Linked DNA regions of Homo sapiens: all the other regions are linked to region 4. The links are contacts of gene promoters, found by promoter capture Hi-C in blood cells and fetal thymus (Javierre and others, 2016). All regions are on one chromosome and are shown on one strand. Each heading gives the region's core, a stretch centred on a gene start or on the middle of the fragment in contact. The rest is flanking DNA. Distances are from core to core; before and after follow the strand shown. Region 1 overlaps PUM2 (pumilio RNA binding family member 2). Region 2 overlaps PUM2 (pumilio RNA binding family member 2). Region 3 overlaps LDAH (lipid droplet associated hydrolase). Region 4 holds the start of RHOB (ras homolog family member B). Region 5 has its middle 18 kb from the start of HS1BP3-IT1. Region 6 has its middle 17 kb from the start of SDC1.

Evidence for each region. The method cuts DNA at HindIII sites, captures the fragments that hold promoters and counts their contacts. A CHiCAGO score of 5 or more calls a contact.
Region 1: a contact is called between a fragment that was not itself captured here and the fragment with the promoter of RHOB in region 4, in 1 of 17 cell types (neutrophils). The highest score is 5.2, in neutrophils.
Region 2: a contact is called between a fragment that was not itself captured here and the fragment with the promoter of RHOB in region 4, in 1 of 17 cell types (neutrophils). The highest score is 6.3, in neutrophils.
Region 3: a fragment that was not itself captured here is called in contact with the fragment with the promoter of RHOB in region 4 in 1 of 17 cell types (naive B cells); the score reaches 7.2 in naive B cells.
Region 5: a fragment that was not itself captured here is called in contact with the fragment with the promoter of RHOB in region 4 in 12 of 17 cell types (endothelial precursors, total B cells, naive B cells and 9 more); the score reaches 27.3 in endothelial precursors.
Region 6: a fragment that was not itself captured here is called in contact with the fragment with the promoter of RHOB in region 4 in 1 of 17 cell types (neutrophils); the score reaches 5.5 in neutrophils.

The regions. Positions count from the first base shown.
Region 1 is chr2:20,302,733-20,307,374 of GRCh38, reverse strand. All of the region lies in intron 7 of PUM2 (pumilio RNA binding family member 2), which reads left to right. Among named protein-coding and RNA genes, the nearest start is that of PUM2, 46 kb to the left of the region's middle. The HindIII fragment of the contact is 2,974 bases long and covers 1-2,765 here.
Region 2 is chr2:20,280,972-20,285,283 of GRCh38, reverse strand. It overlaps PUM2 (pumilio RNA binding family member 2), which reads left to right. Exons shown (of 21, transcript NM_015317.5): 11 at 1,798-1,941; 12 at 2,053-2,337. Among named protein-coding and RNA genes, the nearest start is that of SDC1, 58 kb to the right of the region's middle. The HindIII fragment of the contact is 9,280 bases long and covers 1-4,312 here.
Region 3 is chr2:20,695,813-20,700,194 of GRCh38, reverse strand. All of the region lies in intron 6 of LDAH (lipid droplet associated hydrolase), which reads left to right. Among named protein-coding and RNA genes, the nearest start is that of GDF7, 31 kb to the right of the region's middle. The HindIII fragment of the contact is 978 bases long and covers 1,148-2,125 here.
Region 4 is chr2:20,445,255-20,449,594 of GRCh38, reverse strand. It overlaps RHOB (ras homolog family member B), which reads right to left and starts at 2,521. Exons shown (of 1, transcript NM_004040.4): 1 at 155-2,521. The coding sequence starts at 2,129. The coding sequence ends at 1,539. RefSeq lists silencers at 2,103-2,312, 2,563-2,812. The HindIII fragment of the contact is 3,675 bases long and covers 1-3,252 here.
Region 5 is chr2:20,572,660-20,577,046 of GRCh38, reverse strand. It overlaps a transcript of HS1BP3 not described here. Among named protein-coding and RNA genes, the nearest start is that of HS1BP3-IT1, 18 kb to the left of the region's middle. RefSeq lists enhancers at 136-275, 1,383-1,883. The HindIII fragment of the contact is 3,387 bases long and covers 1-3,068 here.
Region 6 is chr2:20,240,262-20,244,762 of GRCh38, reverse strand. It overlaps the pseudogene DRG1P1. Among named protein-coding and RNA genes, the nearest start is that of SDC1, 17 kb to the right of the region's middle. RefSeq lists silencers at 2,218-2,447, 3,482-3,628. The HindIII fragment of the contact is 3,794 bases long and covers 31-3,824 here.

The sequences.
Region 1 (4,642 bases), core at 29-2,528, 140 kb after region 4:
TTATGCCTGTCTGATTTTGTCTAAGTTTGTATGAAGACTGTCAACATCAGAGTCTATGGAAGGGGGTTGTCTTTCCTTAATGTCATATTCTTCTGTGTTAGTGCAATAAGGCTTCCTAAGCCCTAATTTTTATTTTTCAGTTTTTTTGTTTGTTTATTTTGGAGAGAGAGTCTCACTCTCACCCAGGCTGGAGTACAGTGGGGCAATCTCGGCTCACTTCAGCCTCCGCCTTCTGGGTTCAAGAGATTCTCCTGCCTCAGCCTTCTGAGTAGCTGGGATCACAGGCGTCTGCCACCACATCTGGCTAATTTTTGTATTTTTAGTAGAGACGGGGGTTTTACCATGTTGGCCAGGCTGGTCTTGAACTCCGGATCTCAGGTGATCAGCCCCCCCTCGGCCTCCCAAAGTGCTGGGATTGCAGGTGTGAGCCACCGCGTCTGGCCTATTTTTTGTTTTCATCAAAAATGTCAGGCTGCACAGTGGCGCCATCCTGAAATCCCAGCACTTTGGGAGGCTGAGGCAGGTGGATCACCTGAGGTCAGGAGTTTGAGACCATCCTGGCCAACATGGTGAAACCCCGTCTCTACAAAATTACAAAAATTAGCTGGGCTTAGCAGTGGGGGTCTGTAATCCCGTCTACTTGGGTGTCTGAGGCAGAGAATCGCTTGAACCTGGGAGACGGAGGCTGCAGTGAAGCAAGATTGCACCACTGCACTCCAGCCTGGGTGACAGAGAGAGACTCCGCTCAAGAAAAAAAAAAAAAAAAAAAAGTCCACATTTATAGGTGAGTGCCAGTCGCAGCATGTACTCTGGCCCCGTTTCTTTCCTCTTTTTGCCTCTCTTTCCTTTTTTCCCCACCCGCTTTATCCCTTGTTTGTCCTCTTATGTTAGAAATGTACTGCTACCTGTCTATTCATGGACAGCACAACGGTTTTTATTTCTCGAGGCTTTATATTATTAGGCAGGCTAATACATCTATTACTCTTCTTTTTTGGGGTTTTAAGTTTTTGGTTCTTGCTTATTTGCTTTTTTGTATGAACTTCAAAATTAGCTTATCTACTTCCAGAAGATAGGATTAAATGTTGTAATTTACTTAGGGAAATTTGACATCTTTATGCCATCAAGCATCAGGTTTTTTTTGTTGTTATTGTTTTTGTTGTTGTTTCTTTGACAAGGAGGTCTTGTTGTTTGACCCAGGCTGGAGTGCAGTGGTGCAGTCTTGGCTCACTGCAACTGCTGCCTCCCAGGCTCAAGTGATCCTCTCGCCGCAGCCTCCCGAGTAGCTGGGACCACAGGTGCACGCCACCACACCTGGCAAATTTTTTGTAGAGACAGGGTTTCACCATGTTGCCCAGGCTGGTCCTGAGCTCAAGTGATCCACCCACCTCGGCCTTCCAAAGTGCTGGGATTACAGGCGTGAGCCACCGTGCCCTGCTGACATCAAGTATTCTTGTCCAGGGTGTGATGTGTCTTTATTTTTGTTCAAGTTTACTGTAGTGTCATTTGAGTGCTTTAAAATTTTTCTCATAGGGGTTTGCATATTTCATTCTAAGTTTATTTTATGTATTTTATGTTTTGTTATTGTAAATGGCTTTCTTCCTGTCTTTCATTGTAGCTTTAAAGTGTTATCTATGAAAACTCAAGTACCATATATCAGATTTCATGAATGATATTTTAAAATAGTTGAATCGTCTTCCCATTCTTGGAATAAAAAAGACTTGTATATAATAATTATTTCTTTTAACATACTCTTTCAATTTGCTAGTATTTCATTTAGGATTTTTGCATCTATATAGTTAGATGAAATTAGTCTCTGTGTATCTGCAGTTTTTTCACGTTTTTTAGTGTCAGCATTCTTGCTTCACAAAAATAATTTTAGATACGTCTTTTTTTTTTTTTTTTTTTTTTTTTCGAAGACAGGGTCTTACTCTGTCACCCAGACTGGAGTGCAGTGGTACAGCCTCAGCTTCCCAGGCTGAAGCAATCCTTTCATCTCAGCCTCCCACATAGCTTGGGACTATAGGCTCGAGCCATGATGCCCAGTGAATTTTTTGTAGAGACGGGGATTCACCCTATTGTCCAGGCTGGTCTCGAACTCCTGGGCTCAAGTAATCCACCTGACTCAGCCTCCCAAAGTGCTGGGATTATAGACATGAGCCACTGCGCCCAGCCATTTCTTTCTTATTTTAATGCCTTAGAGTATTTTAATAATATTGGACTTACGTAATCTTTAAAGATGTGGCAGAACTTTCATGTGTGAGAAACCTAATATAAATAAATTTGAAAACCTAGAAAGCATAGTGTATCAAAATTGACCCCACATTTTAACTCAATTCCACAGTTAAGCAAATTCATTATTGACAATCTTTTTTATCCAAATTTGCCTGGTCACCTCTTAGCTGGCCAATAGCTCATTTAGAAAAGGACTAGTCGATAGAAATATGTATAATATGTACCATATAATTTGCAGTTATTTAGTAATCACATTTTTAAAAATTAAAAAATAGGTGAAATTAATTTGAATATTTTATTTAGCTCATATCCAAAATATTGCAAAATGTAGTCAATATGGAACTTACTAATGAGAATTTTTGCATTCTTTTCTTTATATTGTTTTTGAAATATAGCTGATCTCAAGTCAGCTTTGAATATAGCTGATCTCAAACTAGTCACATTTTAAATGCACAGTGACTATATGTGGAAAATTTTTAGAGTGTGAGTTGACAAATGTCTTCTGTACAAAAGGCTGTTGAATATTTAAAGCTTTGCATACCATATGGGTTTGGTCACGACCACTCCACTGTGCTGGTAAAGCATGAAAATGGTTATTAGATGATGCATAAATATTGCTATGTTCCAGTAAAACTTTACTTATGGGTGCTGAAATAGGAATTTCAAATAATTTTCATGTGTTTGAATTTTATTTTTTTGAACCATTTAAAAATATTAAAACTATTCTTAGCTAGTTTGTACAAAAATAGGTAAGACGCAGGCTTAACCCATGTACTTGGCCAGACAGAAATAATAGATAGGATAGAATGAAAACAAAAAGACAGGGTTATGTAGTTGGTTGGAGAGTTCCTAGAGTACAAGGAGTTGAGGGAGAATCCATAGGGGGGTAAATTGGGAATAAAGCCAGGTGACCTACAGATGGCTAGAAGAGGAATAAACAAACAAAAAGGGGCCTATGCAGTTCAGGCTTTGGGGGTTGAGTTGTAGTAACCATGTAAGAGCTCCCCCAGCTACTAATAAAAGACCTGGTTTGGAGATTTGACCCTATAGTATGTAGTTTAGGCAATAATTCTGATACCACATAATGAACAAGTGAGTGCAAGAGAAACTCTCATGTAAGATAATGTTTCAAACAAAAATGACAGTACAAAGAAGGATCAGCCAGAAAACATGTCGCAGAGTTCTAAGTTATGGAAGGGAACTTTAAAGTTGTGCAAAGAATGTAAGAGTATTTTCAGAACCTTAAGAGATAAAGGGTGTGAGCCATCAGAGATTATCAGAAGTCTTAAAACAACAGATTGCTGTGAAAAGGAGCCATTTCATGGTCTTGTAAATAAGTCATTGAAAAAATAGTTCTAGGTGAGCTGCATAATTGGCTATCACCTACCGCTAAATGAATTAGGATATAAAACGTAGATGGTCGCCCAGAACACTGAAATTCCCTATGGTAATCAAGACATGGGAAATGTAAAGGAGAAATGAAAAGCTATGGAATGAGTTAGGGAGTAAGTAAGGATGTACAAAGCATTTGTAAAGAAAACTGTAAACTTTTCCAGAAGTCTTGAATAAATGGAGACGTGATTTTTCTGGGCAAAACTCAGCATTATAAAAATGTCAGTTCTCCCTAAATTAATGTGTGTATTAAATATACTCTTGGTCAGAATCCCAGCAGGTTTTTTTTTCTCTTTTGAAAAAAAAAAAAAAAAACTTGAAAGCTTGATTTTGATGTTTGTCTCAGAAAAGTAAATGGTACTTTTCTGTCACCCAGGCATAGAGTGCAGTGGCCTATGGCTAATTGCAGCCTCGACCTCCCAGGCTCAAGCAGTGCTCCCAGAAAAACCAGAAAATTAATGGAAAACTAAAATTAAAGCGGAGGAGGAGGACTTGCTCAACCATATTGTTTCCGAGCAGAAGCACTCACTGCCTGATGCAGTAGAAGCCAATGCTATGGCACCAGGTTTTTGAGAAAAGAAAAGCTTTTTTTGTAGGTCAACCAACAAGGAGACAGGAATCCAGCTCAAGTCTATCTCCCTGTGCTGGCTTTAAGGGAGTAATTTTTATTAGAAAGGCCTTAGGGGATGGATTTTGAGATTATTAAGTAATTGGTGGAAGAAAAGGGGAGGCCTGGGAAGTCCTCAGCATGCACAGCTATCTCTTCATGCCACCTGATGGGTCGCATGTGCAAATTGCGGGAGAGTTAGTATGAAGCGTGGTGGAAATTTGGGCTGTGATGTCAGCAAGCTTGTTCTGCACAGACTGCAGTCCATATTGGTTTTAACCGATTTCAGCCAGTTTTGTTATCTTAGAGAGTTTCTGCATTTCTTTCTGCAAATTTGAACAGAGTTTCTGCATTTCTTTCTGCAAATTCTTTCTTTTCATATCTGCCATCCTGCAAACTCAAGAATTTTCA
Region 2 (4,312 bases), core at 1,303-3,802, 160 kb after region 4:
AGACCATATAATCTGGTTGGACAGGAAAGTAGCCATCAAGAGAATGGATGGATTTGAGAAAGATTGGAAGGTAAATGAACAGGACTTCAGAGTTGAGTTGACTGTGGGTTATTTCCTCTCTGGGAATTTATATACGCAAAATTTAGTTAAGGAGCAGTTAAGTGCTGTTTGATTTGTCAGTAGAGTGTTTATAGCCAAATGTCCAAATGGATTTACTTTTATTTTTAATTCAAATTCAGATGTTAAGTAAATGACAATGTTTTTGAACAAGAATGTTTTCTGTGTGCCTTGGATTTAGGACTAGACCACACATACCAGTTAAGACTATTGACTGGCATGTACAGTTTGAAATTTACTAGTAATGTGGATATTTTATTAGCAGCGTGCTAATGCTTATTCTTGATCAGAATTACTGTATTTACTAAAAACAACCTATGCATGTGTGTCTTACAGGTGAAGTGTTTATCTGAGCACTGTTTATTATATTTGAGCTGAATTTAGCCTACTGTGTTTAAAGGCAATAAAATGTTCATGCTGCATTATCACTAATTTTACTGTAACTCTCACTTCTGCATAGTATTAACAAAATAAGACTTAAAAATTGATGTTGGAATGTATTTCAGTATAGTCTGTGTTTTTAAAAACTTCTTAAAGGACCAGACACAGTTGGGAGGCTGAGGCGGGAGGATCGCTGGCCCAGGAGTTAAAGACTAGGCTAGGCAACATAGTGAGGCCCTATTTCTGTAGAAAATAAAAATAAATTATCCGGACCTGGTGGCATGTACCTGTAGTCCCAGCCACTTAGGATGCTGAGGCGGGAGGATCATGTAAGCCCAGGAGTTTGAGGCAGCAGTGAGCTATGATTATGCCACTGTGCTCCAGCCTAGACAACAGAGCAAGACAGCACTCTTTAAGGGAAAAAAAAGTTGCCAATGCATGTTTTGCTGATAGTTGTAAGGTTATTGGGCCTCAGTTTTTTGTCGCTTTATAAGGCAGCCTTTCTAAACTGAGTTCCAGAAAAGAATAAAGCCTTATTACTGCTCTGAAGTATCCACAGTGTATATAGCTAACTTCTCTCCTGTGATTCCAGAGTGATGCTTGTTATATACCATCCTTAGGAGAATTAACAAAATACTTACTTAAATCATTTTCTGTGTTTTTGGTTCAACAGAGAATCTCCATTGAGAAAGGCTGCTAAGAAGTTAACTTTATTCTCCACTATTTGTGAAGATTACCTACCTTGTGCTTAAGGCTACAATAAAACTAAAGCCTGTGTGATTTTTAATTAAACTCTAGCTTGAGAATCTTCACAAATAGAATGTTTGGCTTAAGTTTTTAAAGAGATGATTACAAATGAAAATCTAACGGAATGCTGGTAATGAGGCACTTGATTTTGAACTTCAATGAAATTGCACAGTAAACATTTCGTACAGTGTTCTACCTCGCTACTCCCAGTTTTTTTAATCCTTCTTCTTCGAAGGGCTAAATGGTGATTTTTTTTTTCTAATATCAGCCCTTCCTTCATAGCCTGTAGTTTCTATATTAAGGAAAATACCTCTTCATTTTGTGGCCCCTGAGTAAAATTTAGAGAAAAAATGTTTAATGACAGTCTATTACTTTTTCATATATTTAGTAAGACCTTGTCAAATGTGTTGCTTTGCATATATTAACTAAGGATTTTATAGTAATGGTACAAATAGCTGTGTTGTCTAGTTGAAAAAATACAAATGCAGGGAAAAACAAATATGCATGTTTTTGTAATAAGTGCTTTCATTAGTAAACCTTTATTTTATTTAGGCTATCAAGTACTAGCTCCAACTGCCTATTATGATCAGACTGGTGCCTTAGTGGTTGGCCCTGGAGCAAGGACTGGCCTTGGAGCTCCAGTTCGGTTAATGGCTCCAACACCTGTTTTAATTAGTTCAGCAGCAGCACAAGCTGGTAAGTGTAACTGACATTTTTAGGATAATATTTTTCTGGTGTTGAGATACCATTTTTAAAATACAGAATTTTCTGGGTGGTTTAAAGAAGTATCTGAAATTTATTTTACAGCAGCAGCAGCAGCAGCTGGAGGAACTGCAAGTAGCCTTACAGGCAGCACAAATGGTCTGTTTCGGCCAATTGGCACTCAGCCACCACAGCAGCAGCAACAGCAGCCAAGCACTAATCTGCAATCTAATTCATTTTATGGAAGCAGTTCTTTGACTAATAGCTCCCAGAGTAGTTCTTTATTTTCTCATGGACCTGGTCAACCTGGAAGTACATCTCTTGGCTTTGGAAGTGGTAACTCTTTGGGTGCTGCTATAGGCTCAGCCCTCAGTGGATTTGGTTCATCAGGTAAGTTTGTTTTTACGATGAGTGTACTCTGCTAAGTGGAAGAGGTATATGAGTGTGTTTAACATTAAAATAAGCAATAATAGCATGTAGGATAGGAAGGACAGGAATAAAGTATTGGACTACTGGTTTAATTTGTAGGAAAAAAAAATCCTGCAAATCTTTTCAACACTCACCAATGTTTAACTCACTATAGGCAGCCTGTTCTTTACTCATATATAATACATTTCCTTTTTCCCTGGCTCTAGGAATTGATTACTGTAATTTTTGTTTTAGTAGGGTTTATTTGGGTCAATATATTATTCACTAATTATTAGCTCATCTTCATTCACTACATAATGTTTGTGGAGGCAAATATTTTGCCGTCTTAAATTTTTGGTATTTTAAAGCAGTTATCTTTGTGTCCTTATTAGATGGTTTATTCTTATTAAATGCTGGTAGTTTATTACAGTTTTTAAATTTGGCCTAATATAAAAAATACATATGTGTATGTATAAATACTGAAATGTTCTACACAGAATCCCCTAAGAAGCTACCAGTATGGTTATCTTTTAGATTAAATAAGTTAGCCTTTGTCACTAAAAATTCACTTAAAAGGGTATCTATTCATGTATCTTAGCTTTATATAACACTTAACAAATCAAAATTTTAAATAGCTTCACTAAATAATTGACCCACTCAAACTGGTTCCTGGATCCTGTGGTAGAGGAAGAACTAAGTGAAATCAGAAGAGGCCCACGTTGACTTCTTGTTGATACACTTGGTGTTTTCTGTGAGGTTTCCACAGTACTCAGGAAACATTAGGGAAAAAACAGCTGACCCAGTTCTATCGGTGCAGCTGGCAGCTTTTACTTCATGAGGATAGGACTATTTGGACCTCAAGAGATTTTCTGTTTCTATAACATAACTTGCTACAGTCCTTAATATCTGTTTCTGATCTCTTTTCTTACCACATCAAATTATATTCTTTTCTGGTGTGGAAAATGGCAGAACTAACACATGCCAGGCATTATTAACAATGCTTGCCAGTTTTCTAAGGGAGTGTCTTCTGAACTTTTATCATTCATATATACAGGAAGGATGGTCTAGAACAGCCACAAACTTTTAGATGGCAGAATCTTTTTTCATTTATTGTAATGAAATACAATAAGTGGATGTCATATTGGACTGACACAAAATTATCTGAAGACTGCTCATAAGAATTTCTGAGGGAAAATCCAGTGAACATGGGGATTGTTAAATCTTTTCAATTTTGTACTTGAGTTTTTTCATTGCTTTTGGAGTTGTGTATCTCTTTGTCCACCTCACGCACTCCCATAGGACTCATTCCTTGTTTCTAACACAATTGGGACATTTTCTCCAAAGAATCCTAAATATTCTGAGGAAAACTGGAAGAACAAGTAACATAAAAAACAAACTTGTGGAAATAGTTTTTAAATTATAAATTGTAGGCCCTAAATAATTCAGAAAAAAGAGAGCATTGATTAAACCCCATGTTTCCTTTCTCACGTAGTATGTCACTGATCGTCTGGTTCAGATTTCTAGGCCCCTACTCAATTCTTTCAAATTTCCATTTGTTTCTTAGTTAAGGCTGTTTTCCCCCTTTCAGGAATTGATTGACATGAACATTTTGTCCACTACAGATGCCCTGTTTCCCCAAAACTAACCTTCACACCTCCATTATTTACAAGCATGGCTTACTTAATTCTGACTCCAATCTGTAAGAGCTTCATTTTACCTTGCTTTAGAGAGCATTAGTGATTGCCACCCCTGAATGCCAGTAAAGAGTCCATCGTATCTCTCCTCTTGGGCATTTTGTGGGAGTTTTTTCAAGTGCTATATATATGGACTCTTACAAGTTTGCACACTGCCTTTTCACATTATGGCAATTACATACTTACATGAGCTCTAAAACATAATATGGTTGTGTGCCTGTATACACATATACAAGTAACATACACAGTCCTTCTCTTACCTC
Region 3 (4,382 bases), core at 387-2,886, 250 kb before region 4:
CTACTTCCAGTCACTGAGCGATGTGAAAATACAAGAAAAACAGTATTTTATTTTCCATTTAAACTGTAAGTGAATCTGTTTCAAAAATGCATTTAAGTTCTTCCAGGTTGGGAGTTCATAAAAACAGCTCAACTCTCAGTTAATAATAAGACTGGCAGATGCTCACTTCCAAAATTCACACTTGCTGAACAACTAGACCCATCATGTGTCAGAGTCTGCTTTACCACCTGTGGAAGCCAGCTGCTGTAAAATACTCATCATTTCTGGATTCAGCTTGTGTGTTGTGCTCAGAAAAAGGTCAAAGAAAGGTGCTAACTTATTCCTGTCCCAAGTGAAATCCATATGCAAGTGTAATCATTCCCAGATAGAGGGCTGTTCATGGTAATTATGTCAGGACTGTAAGTTTACTGAAATTTTATGGGGAAATACGGGGGTGTAATGGTAAATGGTAGACATTTCAAGGTTAGTATTAACACACAGTCACAGGAATAAACTTTTTCAACTCCAGGCAATAGTTTTGTTTTTGAGATAGCATTAAATATACTTCTAGAATATGGGGAAACAAAGCATTGTTTCATTTAATCATGCAAAACTACCTTGCAGTTAATTCATTATCCTTTCTACCAGCAAAATTCAAGCTCTCCACTAGAATAATACAATTACAGCTCCTAAGTGAAACTAGGTACAGAGAGACAGGAAGTTTATTGCAACTTTTTGTTTCTGTAATAAAAAGAGGAAACATGCTGTAATTTAATATTGGTAGAAGTTGAATCAACATATGTCCCAGTCTGCTTGAGAAAATAAGGAAACTTAAAAGTGCACATAGTTCTAGGAAGATAGTGGGCATTGCTTCCTGCCTTCCAAACACCCCCGATAACTGGTCAAACTAAAACCAATGCCCGGGATTAGAAATATTCCTATTTAGGTATCTTAATCGAGGATACTCTTTCCCATTTCCACCCAAACAAAGGCGTTCAGAAACTTCAGAACTATCCAGGACTGTCCAGTGTGAATAGTCATCAAGCCACACATTTTGTTGAAAAATCATTTCCTGTATCTCAGCTATTCAACTAAAAATAGTTCTGAAAAATATATCTTTGTGCCATCCAGCCAGAATGCCACAGGAAAGTTAGTCTAAAAATAAGCTTTCTACTGTATCATGCAGACAGCATTCTACTTCTTTCTCCTCCCCAAGAGAACTATCATACCATAATCTACAGGCTTTGGTTCTAAATCCAAATTTTCTACCACTGGATTTCCATTTGACACAAGAAGAGAGCTTTTTATATGCTTGAGGAAAATGGGCATTTTTAGCTCTAAAAGATCTGTTGAGCTGATTATCCTCCTTCTGAGGTCCAGTGACTTTATACACAGTATTGGACATAAAGTAATTTATTTTATTAAAATAATTTTTCTTTCCTGGAGCAAATATAACAGACTCATGGTTGTTTCCAAAGGAGTATACCATGGTTTATGGCATCATAGGTTATTTCTTTTTCCTTTTTTTGTTTTTTTGAGACAGAGTCTTGCACTGTCGCCCAGGCTAGAGTGCAGTGGCACGATCTCGGCTCACTGCAACCTCCACTTCCCGGGTTCAAGCGATTTTCTTGCCTCAGCCTCCCGAGTAGCTGGGATTACAGGTACCCGCCACCATACCCAGCTAATTTTTACTAGAGACAGGGTTTCACCATGTTGGTCAGGCTGGTCTCAAACTCCTGACCTTGTGATTTACCGGCCTCGGCCTCCCAAGGTGCTGGGATTACAGGCATGAGCCACTGCGCCCGGCCTATAGGTTATTTTGTCATTTGACTAAATCCTGCTTGTCTAGTGTCATCCCCAAGAGGCCTTCCCAGTCCTTGGTTTTGGTTAGATGTTACTCCCTATGTAAAGTTATATTGCATTTATCACACAGTATTTAAACAATCAACCTTCACCTTTCCCCACGTTGAGGTAAGGAGCTGTGTCTTCTTCGTCTTGATGTCCCCTAGGGCCTAGCATAATTCATACCTGGTAAACAGTCAGTAAATATGTGCTAGACAGATGGATAGATGGGGACGCCATTAACTAGAGTGTGGATTCTAAACCTTTTTTGTGCCATGCATCTCTTTCGCTCTCTCATAAAGCTTTTGGATTCTACTCACAATGATGTTAAGTGCATAAAATACACAAGATTACAAAAGAAAGAAGTTGTTGGATAATGAGATATAATAGCAGTCAGAATTTTTTTTTAATTTGTAATGATAAGTATAATGTTTTAGTTACCTTGAGCAAGTTAGTGTGATTTAAAAATACTTATCATTTTTATAGATGACAAAATATAGGCATTACTAATATTGTAGCTTGTTGCCTGTATTCCTAATTGAAAGAAATACTAAATTTTGGTTAGAGATTAACAAAAGTAAACATGTAAATTTTTCCAAAGTTTACATAACCCCTTCTCCAAACCTCTGGACCTGTACACCGCAAGCAAAGAAGCCCTGCGTTAGAGAAACTAGAAAAGGTTAGGTAGCATGATGTTGTGGCTTAGGCACTGGCCTGAGAACAAAAAGTCATGATATGCCACACTGAAGAGACTGTTTTGGGGAGCTATTGAAGGGTCTAAGCATGGGAGTAACAGGGTGACAGTCAAAACATTTGACAACCATGTGATATAGGGATTGACCAATCAGAATGTATGCCAGCTATGAACAGCCAGTTCAGGGGCACCAGTTCATATCAGTTAGCCCTAGGAATTTGGTGAGATTAACAAATGAGAGGGATTATCTTGAGGGCAAATGTGTGGTATAATACTAGAAAAGGATGAAATATGAGTTGGGGAGCCTGTTTACAAAGCTTTTATAAGAACTAAGGCATTGGGATTGAAGATGGAAAGATTTAGGAGATAGAATCAAAGGTACTGAGTACTAACAGGATATTGGGGAATGGAGATGGAGGAATCTAAGATTATTTCTTTGTATCTGGACTTGGTAATAAGACAGGGAATATGGGAAGAGAAGCAGCAGCAAGTTATGGGAGATGGCTGAACAAGTGGTTCATTTTGGTACTTGTATTTGAGATGCCAGTGGGACATGCAAGTGGATCCGTGTCTGGCAGGCCCTGGATGTATGGGTGTAAAGCTTAGAAAGATATTTGAGGCTGACTTTTGGTTGGGGAGTGATGAGGCTGTAGTTAAAGCCAAGAGCATGGGTAATAGCAGCCTAAAGAAGTATACAGAATAAGGAGAGAAGACTTCTAATGATTGATCATTAGGGAACCCAGCTTAAGGGTTGGGAGGAAGACGAGGAGCCACTGAATGAATAAGATGGGAGGGGAGGTAAGAAGGGTGGGAAGGAGAACCAGGATGAAATAAACCAAGGGAAGAGAATCAACTGTGCGTTTTCGCCACCCCAATCCCAGTTTGTCTGGAAACCTCTGGAGTATTCTCTGTTTCATGAGGCACCTGGTGTGTCAGAGGCAAATAAGAGGTCAGCACTCCCTTGTTCTGTCACTGTTCTAAGCCATAAGGGATGCATGTCTCATTCATTGAAAAGTGAACTCATGTTTGGTTTATAAACTTGAAGTTTTCATTTCAAACCCACTTAGGGGGGGAATTCTAAACTGCCATGACCACGTTTGGCCCAGGCTTACGGAAACAGCTGGTGTGTGCTACTGCCAGACTGAATCTGAGCATCACTATCAGTAAGTAGGAATCTGAAATTGCTCCAAAGAGAACACATGAAGTGCAGCTTTCAGATGAAGTTAGGCAGTGGTAGGGGGGCTGCCTGTAAGGTGGTGCTGCCCCTGCCCCCAGAGGGCCAGGCCAGGGCTACAGTGTGGCTTGGGAAAGGGGCAAGTGTCCTCAAGAACAGGAACTCCTCTGCTATTGCTCTCTCCCCATCCCTCTTAGCCTGCCTTAGCCCAAAGGTGTGTGTTGCCTTTGGGAGCAAACCTTGTGCAGTTGTTTGCAGATTGGGGCATGCAAATCCTTCTGACATGCACATGTCCTGCCTGCTGCAGCATAGGAAATGCTCCCTGGACCAGCTCACCAGGCCTGCCTTTCCGCCAAGCCTCGGTATTCTGAAACGGATTGTGTTAGTTCTGCCTGTTTAATTTAAAGCCTGTCCAGAATGTCATAATCATCCTGAAAATAGATAGGTTTGTTTTTATCTCAATATTGTGACCTTGAAAGCTTTATTTGGGCAATTGTGTGAGCACACTCTGGGGTTCTGCAGTGGAGCCTGGTGACTGAGGGGAGGCAAACGTGCTGGAGAGCTGGGCTCCCAGAGTCTCAGCCAAGCTTCAAACACCAAATCCACCCTTGTTCATGACCCTGCTTAAGTTACCGGACCTCACTGTGCCTCCTTTATTCATCAATAAAATGGTTAATAATAGTATGTAGCCTC
Region 4 (4,340 bases), core at 1,272-3,771:
CCACATGCTCTCAAAGGGACTTCATCCTCATTTACTACATTTGCTATAAGGGAAACGGAGTTGGCAAGAAAGGATCTCGCCTAGGAGAATATCTCCCTTGTTCCAAATTCACAAGGGTATTTTTACACACTATTAAACCACAAGAGCCATTTTATAAATGTCATCATCATAGTCTTTTAATATTTTACATAAAAAACTGTATACACAGCTTATAGAACTTTTATGTAAACATCATAAGCTCACCATTTTGTCATTTGTCAGTTTATTTAAAAAATAAAAAACAAGACAACAATTTAGTAGAAGTACCACTGGGAGGGAGGGGAGGGGAAAAAAGGATATACAGGGGCAGGTGTATTCTCTGTACAGAGGTGCAGAGAAAATTTCACATAGCTTTAGAGAATGCCTTGTGGAAAAAAAAAAAATAGGCCCCAATACTTGTTACTGCCCTTTATCAAAACTGTGTGCATGACCTGCACAAATAAAATCACAAAACAGTGTTGCCACATTCTTCAAGGAAACAAAGCAAAATTTAGTGGGTTTCTTTTCCCTCTCCTTGTTAAAAGTCATTTTTTAAAAACATCAGAAGTAGATGAGGTTACAGCGTACAAGTGTGGTCAGAATGCTACTGTCGTATGCAAATGACGAGTGCATTAAGTGTCAAACAATGAAACAATTGTGCAAAGAATAAAAAAACAAATTTTAGCCTTTAAATAAATCAAATAACATCAGTTTCTTGGACTGAACAATTTTCACTTCTAGGACAGGCACAAAGTTCGCTTATGGCAAAAACAACCCCACAGCGCATCCTCCCTCCTCCCTCCGGTAGCTGGTGGAGGGTTCGCAGCGGGCTGGCCCGCAGGAGAGGCTGTGCTGAAGCTGTGTCCTCCCCAAGTCAGTTGCAAATGTCTTCCCCAGGGGTTGGAAAGATGGTCAAGTCCTGTTCATGCTTGGGCGGGAGTCTGGCCCAGCCTGGGCCAGAGCGCTCACCCATCACCACCCTTAAATAACACCATCTTAGCTCCGAAAATAAAATTATATCTATATTTATATAACATCCCCCCATCCTCCCCAGCAGCCCTCCCCTCCCGCAGTACCCGGGGTCTATGTTACAGACAAGGGATATCAAGCTCCCGCTGGTGAAGGGCGAACATCTGATGGGGCGCGGCCACACTCCCGCGCCAATCTCGCCCCCGGGGATCAGAGGCGGGGGTGGGGTGAAAATGGGGCGAGGGGAGTCGAACAGACACACAGCCACACACTCTGAGGCCCGGCTCTTCAGAAAAGCATGCTCAGGGGACCCTTGGCACTCAGTGGGGAGCCCAGGCCTGTGCAACACAGCTGGACGCACACAGACACTGGGATGGGGGCGCCCGGTGCCCACGCCAAGTCCTGGCGCAAGCCAGAGGCGTCAGCAGACAGATGCCAGGCAGGCCGGTGGGGTCCTTGTGGGACACGGGTCTCCCCTTCTCCGGGCTCGCGGGGGACTGGTCCAGGAGGGGGAGCCGTGCCGGCAGGGGCAGGCGCGACGGGCGCGGCCCTCATAGCACCTTGCAGCAGTTGATGCAGCCGTTCTGGGAGCCGTAGCGCTTCTGCAGCGCGGCGCGCGTGGCCGTCTCGAAGACCTCGCGCACGCCTTCCTTGGTCTTGGCAGAGCACTCGAGGTAGTCGTAGGCTTGGATGCGCACGGCCATGGCGCGGCCGTCATCCGTGCGCACGGGTTCCTGCTTCATGCGGGCCAGCTCTGTGCGGACATGCTCGTCGCTGCGCAGGTCTTTTTTGTTGGCCACCAGGATGATGGGCACATTGGGACAGAAGTGCTTCACCTCGGGGACCCACTTCTCGGGGATGTTCTCCAGCGAGTCCGGGCTGTCCACCGAGAAGCACATGAGAATGACGTCGGTGTCCGGGTAGGAGAGCGGCCGCAGGCGGTCGTAGTCCTCCTGGCCCGCCGTGTCCCACAGCGCCAGCTCCACCTGCTTGCCGTCCACCTCAATGTCGGCCACATAGTTCTCGAAGACGGTGGGCACGTACACCTCGGGGAACTCGTCCTTACTGAACACGATCAGCAGGCACGTCTTGCCACACGCGCCGTCGCCCACCACCACCAGCTTCTTGCGGATGGCCGCCATGAGCGGGCCGGGCCCGGGCAGCAGGAGGGGGCCCGCGAACGCCTCGCTGCCCTCCCGCTCGCCGCTCACTGCTCACCTCGGGCTGCGCGCAGGTGGCGAGAGGGTCGCTAGCTGCACCCGGGCCCCGCGGTGGCGCGTTCTCTCGCTGCGCTTCGGCTGCCGCGGCGGGGGCGGTGGGGGCGCGGGGGCATAGGGCGCACCGTGCGTCTCGCCGCGCTGCTCCCGGGCGGTGGTCGCTCTGCTCACCCCAGGCCGGGGATCGGCGGCTTTGTGCGTAACGCGGGCTCGGGCAGCAGACTCGGGCGGTGGACTCGGCCTAGCTCTCTCCCGGGTCTCTCCGGGCCTCGCTGAGCATACAAGACAACAGCTCCAACCAGACTGCGGTGGCAGATGAGGGCTGCGGCCCTAGCGCCCGCTATTTAAAGAGTCCGGCCACTTTCTTAATATAGCCGTCCAATGGGAAACCAGCCGGCTGAGCTCATCGCTGCGGAGCTTAGCTCTGATTGGCCGCCCCCTGCAGCCCGAGGGCGGGGCAGGGCCAGCTTGATTGACGGCCCAGGCCGCCGGGCTGGGAGAGGCAGCGACCGGGGAGTCCGCGCTGCTGCTGCCGCTGCGGGGCTCTGGCGGTACCCGGGTCCCCTCCTTCGCCGCAGCGTTTGCGCGCGGGGTCCGGGAGCTGGCTGTCTGGAGCCTCCAGGGTCTGGGCGAGCGGTTCCGAGACAGGCTTCACTCAGTGGGGCGTTGGCGACTCCCATTCAGAATTGCCCCTCTTCCTGGCAAACTCCCGGCGGGTGGTCGGGCCTGTGGGGGAGGGGCAGCTCTTTTAACGTGGTTTTGTTTTTAAATAAACAGACACACACACACACACACACACACACACACCCCACACACACACTTTTGTTCCCAAACAAGAGTGTTTTCTCTTTTCTTTTGGAGGTGGCCCCTCCTGTGGTTTAGGGCCCCACCCGGGTACTCGCCGTGGGCCAGCCTCGGGTTTGGACCCGAGAGGCGACCGGCTGGCTGCAAACTGGCTCTTCCAAGTCCCGCCGCCCCTACCCTTCCCAACCCCCAGCTTAGGTCTCTAGGTGAAGATTAAGGGAAGAGGTGCGGAGTGGCCCAAGCTTGACAACGGAAAGGGAAGGTCGAGGCTCGAACACTTGGAGGAAGTTACCGGACAGGAAGAAGCCCCTTCGGCCCCTCTTTTCACTATGAACTCTGATCCCGGTTCTTAAAACAGAGAACTGTCTGAGATAAATTGTACAATAGAATATACACTATTGTACAATAGAATGTACAATAGAATATACACTATTGTACAATAGAATGTACAATAGAATATACACTATTGTACAATAGAATGTACAATAGAATATACACTTGTACAATAGAATGTACAATAGAATATACACTATTGTACAATAGAATGTACAATAGAATATACACTATTGTACAATAGAATGTACAATAGAATATACACTATTGTACAATAGAATGTACAATAGAATATACACTATTGTACAATAGAATGTACAATAGAATATACACTATTGTACAATAGAACGTACAATATTCCGGGTTCAATAGAATCCAACCACCCCAAGACCCCTGAGCAGACGAAAAGGCTTGAGGCTGGAGAAGAGGGGAGGAGTAAGGGGCTAGCAAATGGGGCACAGCGGGTTAGGGGGTGTCCCCTCTATTGGGGCGTAGCCTCCTGATGCACGCCAGGACTGAACTCATTTATCCTGTAGATCCTGCATGAAATGACAGTACCGGTGATCCGGAAAGACCCAAGTCAACCGATTTCTACGGATAAAAGAGGAAGAAGGGGATAGGGGGAAAGGGGAGTCGGGGAGGGCTCCCGGGCAGGAGAAACAGCCTGAACACAAGCAGGAAGGTGGGAAGGAGCGGGGCAAACTCTAGGAGCTGCATATGCTGGGGCTCATGAGTGCTAAAGTATTAACAGCATGGGCTGGGCTCTGTCTATCCATTGCATGGGAAATGTCTGCAAACTGTTTTTTCAGCAAAGGAGGGACCCACCACATGACCGGGAGGTGGTTGCCTCCTGTCTCCGTCTCTGTCTCGGTCTCTGTCAGTTGTTGGAGGGCCAGGATTCTGTCTTATCTCCGCATCTTGAAGACCCAGCACAATGCCTGGCATTTACAAGGATCAGTAAATGACTGTGGGGAATTAACCCGAATGCTCAGAAACGCA
Region 5 (4,387 bases), core at 126-2,625, 130 kb before region 4:
ATAAATTTCCTTGTAAATACTCTTCCCAGGTAAATTCCCAGGGCATTCCCAGGAACCATCCATCCTAGACATCCCAATGGGAAAAGATTTGTAAGTGGGAATTCTGTTCCCCATCATTTGTTTGCCACTGACCAAAAGGATATGACTAGGTGTCCTTCAATTCTTAGAAAGCAACTGCTTCTATACGTAACCGAAACAGAAACAGAAACTTCAGCCTGCATAGTCCCTCTGGTGATAAGTTCAGCTTCCGGGAGGCAGGCAAGACCCAAGAAATAGTGTAGACTCAGTGTGACAGGTCAACTTCCATTTCTGTTGTGGAATAAAAAGTCCCTAGATTGTGGGCCCCATTAAGGGTACCATTCAAGGCCTCCGTCTCTCTCAGAACTTCTGGGGGTAGCAGTATTTGTTGGCACCTGCCATATGCCAGGCACTTTACAGTACAATGAGGGAGGCGATCCTGTTCCCACTTTAGAGAGAAGGTCGTGTAGCTAGAATGTGGCAGATTCCAGCCCTCCTCTGATATTTTCAGGCTCTAGACTAGAGCCTCAGGGAGGTCTCAGGCCAGAGAGGAGATAAGACTGCAAAGCATGGAAAACGGGACGCCTGAGCTAAGCCCTCAGTGGCAGGAGGAGCTGTACTGGGCAGGCTTCTCAGAGGAGGTGAGGTTCCAGCTGGTTCTCTGAGGACAGGAAAAGAGGAGGAACACATAGAGTCCATATGAAGGAAACAACTTAGGCAAAGATTGAGCAGAAAGAAACCTCACATAGCCGGGTGCAATGGCTCACACCTATAATCCCAGAACACTTTGGAGGCCGAGGTAGGAGGATCACTTGAGCCTAGGAGTTCAGGACCAGCCTGGACAACACGGTGAGATCCTATCTCTACAAAAACTAAAAGAAAATTAGCCAGTCATGGTGACATATACCTGTAGTCCCAGCTACTTGGGAGGCTAAAACAGGAGGATCGGGAGATTGAGGTTGCAGTGAGCTGCGGTCATGCCACTGCACTCCAGCCTGGGAGAGAACAAGACCCTGTCTCAAAAAACAAAACAAAACAAAACAAAGATGGAAATGGGTGGGACAGGTTTTTCAGGTCCCCCTCCCCAGTCCCCTTCCCCCATTGCCTGTCAGGAACTTCTCAAGCATTCATTTTTATAAATAGCTACCTTTTAAAAAGCAACTCCTCATGTGTGGGTATCAGGGCCTAACAGTCACTCACATTGTAAATTAATTTCCCAGCTGCTCCTGTCCTCCCTTGCTGGGGTAGCCTGAAGGGGGGGGGGGGGGTGGAACCAAGGAGACAGAGGCGTTGCTGCCAGGCCCCCGTGTGGAAGAGCCCAGGCACATGGGCCAGGCCCGTGGATAAGGAATGCCGGGCCTTGAGGCACAAACCTGGAGAGGGGAGGAGGCAGGAGGCACACTGTGGCTTTCTCCCCAGTGCCTGGCTCCTCACCTGGCATGTGGCGGGGCCTCCAGGGATGCTGCAAGAGGGACTTACTACCCTTTGGGAGTCTAAAATATGTGGGCAGAGTGTGGCTGGGCAGCCAGGGAACTGGGCTGCATGTTGAGACCAAACAGGGTCTTGGAGTGTCAGAGCTAGAGAGGAAGGGGTGGGCCCTTTTTGGTATTTTCTGATTGTCAGAGTCAGCTGATGGGTTGAAATAAGCCCAGGAGGCTTTGGACTAGGGCTTCCAGGCTCAGGGATTGACACTATGTGTCTCTGGCCTTCCTGTCCCTAGCCCTGCCTGTCCAGGCTGCGGCCCTGATTCAGGTAAATGTCCCACCAGGCTCCTCACCCTTGGAACGAGGCCTAGAGCTCAGCAAATGCTTCCCTTGAGGGTGTGAATGACCACAGGACAAAACTCCAGAGCCCATTGTTCCAAAAGTTCCAGAGAAATCCAAACAAATGCCCAACAACAATATGGGGGTGAGTAGCAAGTGCAGAAAAGTCCCGGGCTTTGTCCTTAGGCATCCAGACGTTTACGTTGTCTGCATTAATGAGCTAGGAAATGGTTCTTTTTACGCCAGTAATAACAACCACTCCTGTGTTCTCATTTAATCCTGGCAAAAACCAAGTAAGGCCAACATTATCATCCCAGTTATGCAGAGGAGGGGATTGAGGCTCCAAGAGGACCCCTGATTTCCCCACAGTTCCACGGTTAGTAGATAACCATGCTGGTACTTGAACCCAGGGTCCCGACTTCTCTCCTAGCTCAGTTCAGTGGATCTGCTGCCCTGATCCAGGGACAGGATTGGCTCCCAATGTGGACACAGCAGATAAGGAAGCAGACCCCTGTGAGGTGTCCAGGAGGCCAGGCTTGCCCAGCACTGCCTGCCCGGGTGCTGCTGGGGGAAGCCAGGTGCCCACTGAGTGGGGCTGGCCAGGTCACTGTCATCTCATCCACCGAGGCTGACCATGCTTTCTGCTATACAGTCACTCATTTTTCCTGGCCATGCAGCACTCATTCCTTCCCAGTGATCCCCTGGCCCTCCAGGGCTCTGAAATGAGGTATGCCCCAGGTCTTCCTCTCCCAGTCCAGCTCAACCCTGCTTGCCAAGCCTAGGGCCCTTCGCAGTGGTGGGAAAAAGGAGGCAGCCATGGATAAGACACTTGCAGAAAGTTAGCAATTGACTGAATCTCCTCAAACACTACAAGATTTTCATGGGCTAATATCTTCAGCAGAAAAAGAAAAATTGCTGAACTCATAAATTGTGATTTTGCATGCTCATCTATTTCCAGAGCGCCTTGCTAGATAACTAAGAGCTTGTTCTTTGATTATGGCCATTTAGTAAATGGGATCTAACAGGCTTGTTTTGAGTCTCACGAGCCTTGCAGTTTGCTCCAAGAAGCTGTCTGTTCCAGCGCTTCCATCTGGCAGATGGCCTCACTGTGATGCACTCAGAAGTCAGGAGAACCGCAGCATCAACAGAAGCACAATTAATCAGTGCAATTGTTTTCCCTGCTGTGAACATGACACTTCCCTGGGTTTTTGAGGGCAACCCACACAGGAAGGACCTAGTTTTGCATTCTCTATGGCATTCAAAACCATGTTGAGTGTCCAAGAAGCTTTTGTTTCTGACATTGGTCTTCCTGTTCATTCTCTATGTCCCTGAAAACACTGCTGCAGTCACCAACCAGGCCACCATGCAGGGCAGCAAAGCGCTTGGCCCTCCTTGTCCTGGTGGGGATGGCGGTGTTGTGTCTCACAAGGAGTCTGAAGTTACCTCGAGGTCAGCACCGATGAATGGTCCTGACCGGAGGCTGTCTGGATTCCGGGCTTTGCTAATTGTTATTTTTATGAGAAAATTACTTGTTTTTGTTCCTTGCAGACCAGAAGGAGGAAAACAACTTAAACTAGTAGCTGAACAGGAAGGGGAAGCCCATAGCTCCCTAATGAGATATCAGCTGAGAGCTGTGGATTTGTGGAGCCTCTGGAAGCAAAGGCCCGGGAGGCTGCGACTCCTTTAGAGCTGTTGGCCCAGCCCGAGCCAGGCCTTTTTTGGGAACCTGTGAATCTCAGGTTTTCAGTCTACAAAATGACAACTCAAAACCTGCTGAATTATGTGATCCTCAGGATTAAAAGCAGTTAGGGGCTTGGGGGGTCTCCCTGGGAAGAACAAGTAACAAAGAGACTCAAAGTACCACGGGTTGTGGTGGAGACAGAGGACCCCATGGTTAAAGAGGAGAGGGTGGTTTAAACACAGAAATTTATTCTCTCACAGTTCCAGAGGCCTGAAGTTCAAAACCAAGGTGTCAGCAGGCCCATGCTCCCTCTGAAGGCTCTCGGGGAGAATGCTTTGCCCCTCTAGCTTCTGGAGGCTCCGGGCATGTAGACCTACCCTAAATCCAGAAAAGTCTCATCCCAAGACCTTCAGCTTAATTATATCAGCAAAGACTGTGTTTCCAGGTAAGATCTTGTTCCCAGGTACCAGGGGTTAGAACTTGGACATATCTTTTGGGTGGACACCATTCAACCCACTACAGTGACATTTACAGATTCTAGGGATTAGAGTCTGTTATCTTGGGGGTACTTTTGGTAGTATTCTGCCTACCACATTCTCTATGTTGCGGTGGCTACCAGTAGGCTGTGGCCCTGGGGACCACAGAGTGATGGGCTATGCTGGCAGACAGGAAGGCTGCCCAGGCCCCTCTGCTCCCATGGGGCTTGGCAGGGAGCAGTTAGAAGTGCAAGGAGCACAGCTGCAGCCCTGGAGCAGGGGCCACCTGTGTTCCTGTCCACAGATTCCTGAGCAGGCCCAGTGACCCCCAAACAGATGGGAAGGACAGGCTGGGAGCTGATCCCCGGGCTCCAGTACCCTGAAGAGACAGGAGGAAGGAGCCTCTGAAGATTACAATAATCACTGCCATTTATTGAAGACCTTCCATG
Region 6 (4,501 bases), core at 678-3,177, 200 kb after region 4:
CTGGACAACGAAGTTAGGATGATGGAAGCTTCCTCAAAGCAGTAGGTATTTAGAAATCAGAAACAAGGGTCTCATCCAACTCTACGCAAAGCACACGTTTTCACCTTCATAGTCAGAAGATATGGGATGTTGGCCAATAATTCTTTATGAACATGGTCATCTAGGATCCTGAGGGAAGTCAAAAGCTGCTTGAGAAGATCATGTGTGATTTCCCTCAGCACACATTTTGGTGCCCATGCAGTTGAGCAGAAGCCTTCCACCCAGTTCAGGATCATATCTTTTTTGTGTAAACAGCATGTAGCTCATGGCCAGAAACAGGTTATGGAAGGAATGCTGAAGAGTGGAGGAAAATCCACCACAAATCATTCCATGACCAAATAGGACCATATGGAGAACATTCAGTCTTATCTTTTGTATTGTTTTGTTTTTTGAGACAGGGTCTCACTCTGTCGTCCAGGCTGTAGTGCGCTGGCATGATCACAGCTCACTGCAGCCTCAACCTCCCAGGCTCAAGCGATCTTCCCACCTCAGCCTCCTGAGTAGCTGGGACAATAGGTATGCACCACCGTGCCCAGCTCATTTTTAAATTTCTTGGTAAAGACAAGAGTCTTGTCATGTTGCCTGAATTGGTCTCAAACTCCTGGACTCAAGTGATCCTCCTGCCTCAGCATCCCAGAGTGCTGAGATCACAGGCATGAGCCACTGTGTCTGGCTGGTCTTACCTATTTTTTGAGAAGGCATGAGGTCCTAGGCGGGAGGGAAAAAAAGTAATTCCTAACTCAAAGCCTTTAAATCTAGACAGGAATCAAGATTTCAAAACTAATCAGTGCCTTGGGCTTGGAAGGGAAAGGTAAAATGAAGAGGATGAGGGGATGGCTTTGGGGGATTGAGAGCAAGGTGGGTGCAGCAGCCAGTGCATTTTCATAGTCTTATTTATTGAGCAACTACTTTGCGTCAGGTTTCATTTTTTGTTTGTTTTGAGATAGAGTCTTGCTCTGTCACCCAGGCTAGAGTGCAGAGTGCAGTGGCACAATCTCGGCTCACTGCAACCTCCACCTCCCAGGTTCAAGCGATTCTGCTGCCTCAGCCTCCCAAGTAGCTGGGATTATAGGCGTGGCCCACCATGCCCACCTAAGCCTAATTTTTGTATTTTTAGTAGAGACGGGGTTTCACCATGTTGGCCAGGCTGGTCTTGAACTCCTGACCTCAAGTGATCCGCCCACCTTGGCCTCCCAAAGTGCTGAGATTACAGGCATGAGCCACCGTGCCCGGCCTGTGTCAAGTATTCTTGATGCTGAGGATACAGCCCTCAAGAGGTGCACACCCCAGTGGAGGGAGAAACAGAATGAGATTCTTGATACAAGCAATGCTTCAGTTAACAATAGGGGTCATCACAGATTCTTGAGCAGGTGAGTGACAAGTGCGGTGGTGTGGAGGACCCAGCACAGGCTGGCAGAGCAGCAGTAGAGAGGGACTGGAGGCAGGGGAGGTAGCAGTGCCAGTTACAGAGCTGAGGGGCTCCCCGAGACATGGGCGGAGTCTCATCTCTTTCTTGCTTTATTCCCACCCCTGGCCTTTTATGGCCAGAAGCCTTGGAAAGCCGGGTCACACCTGGTGGGCCCCTTCCTATGGCAGGGATGAGGACAAAAGCACGTGTATGGGCTCGCCCTGGAGAAGAGGAGGGGTGTCTGGGAGTCCTCTTCTGCCCTGCTCCTTCAAAAGTCAGTTCTGGTTTGAGCACTGGAGTCTGGGCTTGGAAGGCACCTGTGAGCAGAGGAGGGAGGGGGTCACCCCCCAGAGTTTGGAAGGGTGACAGCTTCATCTATATTCCATTACCCACCCTCTTCTACAGTAGGGTAGAAAACTAGAGAAGGGACCTGGAAGACAAAGAGTCAGCTTTGTCACAGGAAGAGGCAGCTGTAGACACAACGGCAGCCACCAGGTGACCTAGAGCCCTCCCCACAGGCCCAAGCCTGGCTCACGCAGCAGGGTGGCAAGGGCCTGGGGGCGGCCTTAGAAAGCTGCAAAAGTGGCTGTGCGCGGTGGTGATCCCAGCACTTTGGAAGGCCGAGGCGGAGGCTCGCTTGAGTCCAGGAGTTCGAGGCCAGCCTGGGAAACATGGCGAGATGCCCCTGCCTTCCCTATAAAAAAAATAAAAATAATTTTTTTTAAAAAAGCAACTGACCCGCCTGGGTGACGCCCTCAAGCCCCCCCCCCCCCGCCCTTTCCCCACCCGGGCTTCAGTTTGCTCATTGGGGCCTAATCCAGCAGGGCTGTTGCGAAGCTGCCTGGGAGACACCAAGGGGGACCCCCGCCCCGTCCGCCGAGAGCGCCCCCTGGCGGCCCGGCCCTCCCCTGCGCCGCGGGTCCGGGGGCCCTTCCCAGTCCAGGCGCGGCGCACCCTGGGGGATCCGTCCAGCTCCAGAAGTTTCTTCGTCTAAATTACTTGGAGTTGATCTTTCTAAACAGGATTGCTCAGACACACCCTGCCTTCTCGAACAAGGAAAGAACTCTACCCATCCCACTCAACTGCCATGTACGACCGCCTGCAGCCTCATCACAGGGCACTTCCCATAACATCCTACCACCGCGGACCCCAGGCCTCGCCCCTAAAGCCCGAGCCCTGACATCCTGCAGCCTGGAATCGCACATCTCCAGTCACGTGGCCACTGGCCCCGTTTCGCCAAACATGTCCGGAACCGAACCCATCTTCTTGCACCAAACCTTCTTGTGCTCTTCCTCTTCCCTTCCTGAACAAGTCGGCCCTAAAGCCACAGGTGGGGCGACTAAATTTTTTCGTATAAATAAATCCCAAACATTGCATAGGACATAATTATACATTTTATACTAAAAAAAAATGTTCATCTGAAATTCAAATTTAACTGGGCATTCTGTTTTTATTTGCTAAATCTGACAACCCTACTGCCCCTGTCTCTGGCCAGCCAGTTCCTCCTCGTCTCCTGGAGCCAGCCCTGGAGCTTCCCTAGACAGATTCCAGGGACAGCTCCTCCAGGCACAAGGTCATGATGGCGGTGATGGCAAATTATTGCAATGGCTTGTTTTCTTACGTTTCTCCACCCACACTGTGAGTTGTTGGAAGGCCAGACTGTGTGTTTCTCTCTCTTTACCCCAAAGCCTGAAGTTAGGTGCTTAGGTAATGCTCACCACTGTAAAGCCAGTAGGAAGTAAGCGCGTTTTTCTGTTTTGTTTTTTGTTTGTTGTTGTTGTTGTTTTTGAGATGGAGTCTCGCTCTGTTGCCCAGGCTGGAGTACAGTGGCGCAATCTCGGCTCACTGCAACCTCCGCCTCCAGGGTTCAAGCGATTCTCCTGCTTCACCCTCCCGAGTAGCTGGGATTACACCCGCACGCCACCATGCCTGGCTAATTTTTGTATTTTTAGTAGAGACGGGGTTTCACCATGTTGGTCAGGCTGGTCCCAAACTCCTGGCCTCGTGATCTGCCCGCCTCAGCCTCCCAAAGTGCTGGGATTACAGGCATGAGCCACCACGCCCGGCCCTAAACGCGTTTTTAAAGGCGGTGTCTCTCGGTGAAGAGCTGTCACACAATGGTGCTCTCAGGGGTCTGTGGGCCACTGTACCGAGGCCTACACTCCCAAGTTCATTGAGTTACTTTTGAAAAGCATTATACTTGAGCTAGTTTGCCCGCGGGTGTGTGAAGGGAGACAGTCAGTGTGGAGGCCACAGGGTACTCGCCACGATGAGCAGCACCCTAGCTAAGATCGCGGAGACAGAAGAGGAGATGGCTTGGACTCAACAAGGCCACAGCACACCACCTGGGGCTGCTTAAGGCTCGTCTTGCTAAGCTTCGTCGAGAACTCACTACTCCAAAGGGTGGTGGTGGTGGTGGAGGTGCAGAAGAAGGTTTTGATGTGGCCGAGACAGGTGATGCTTGAATTGGATTTGTTGGTTTTCCATTTGTGGGGAAGTCGACACTGCTTAGTAACCTGGCAGGGGTATATTCTGAGGTGGCAGCCTATGAATTCACTACTCTGAGCACTGTGCCTGGTGTCATCAGATACAAAGGTGCCAAAATCCAGCTCCTGGATCTCCCAGGTATTATTGAAGGTGCCAGGGATGGGAAAGGTAGAGGTCGTCGATCATTGCAGTGGCCCGAACCTGTAACTTGATCCTGATTGTTCTGGATGTCCTGAAACCTTTGGGACATAAGAAGATAATTGAAAATGAGCTGGAAGTCTTTGGCATTCACTTGAACAGCAACCACCGCCCCCCAACAATGGCTTTAAGAAGAAGGACAAGGGAGGCATTCATCTCACAGCCACTTGCCCACAGAGTGAGCTGGATGCTGAAACTGTGAAGAGCATTCTGGCTGAATACAAGATTCATAATGCCGATGTGACTCTACGTAGTGATGCTACAGCTGATGACCTCATTGATGTGGTGGAAGGAAACAGAGTTTATATCCCCTGTATCTATGTTAAATAAGATTGACCAAATGTTATGTTAAATAAGATTGACCAAATG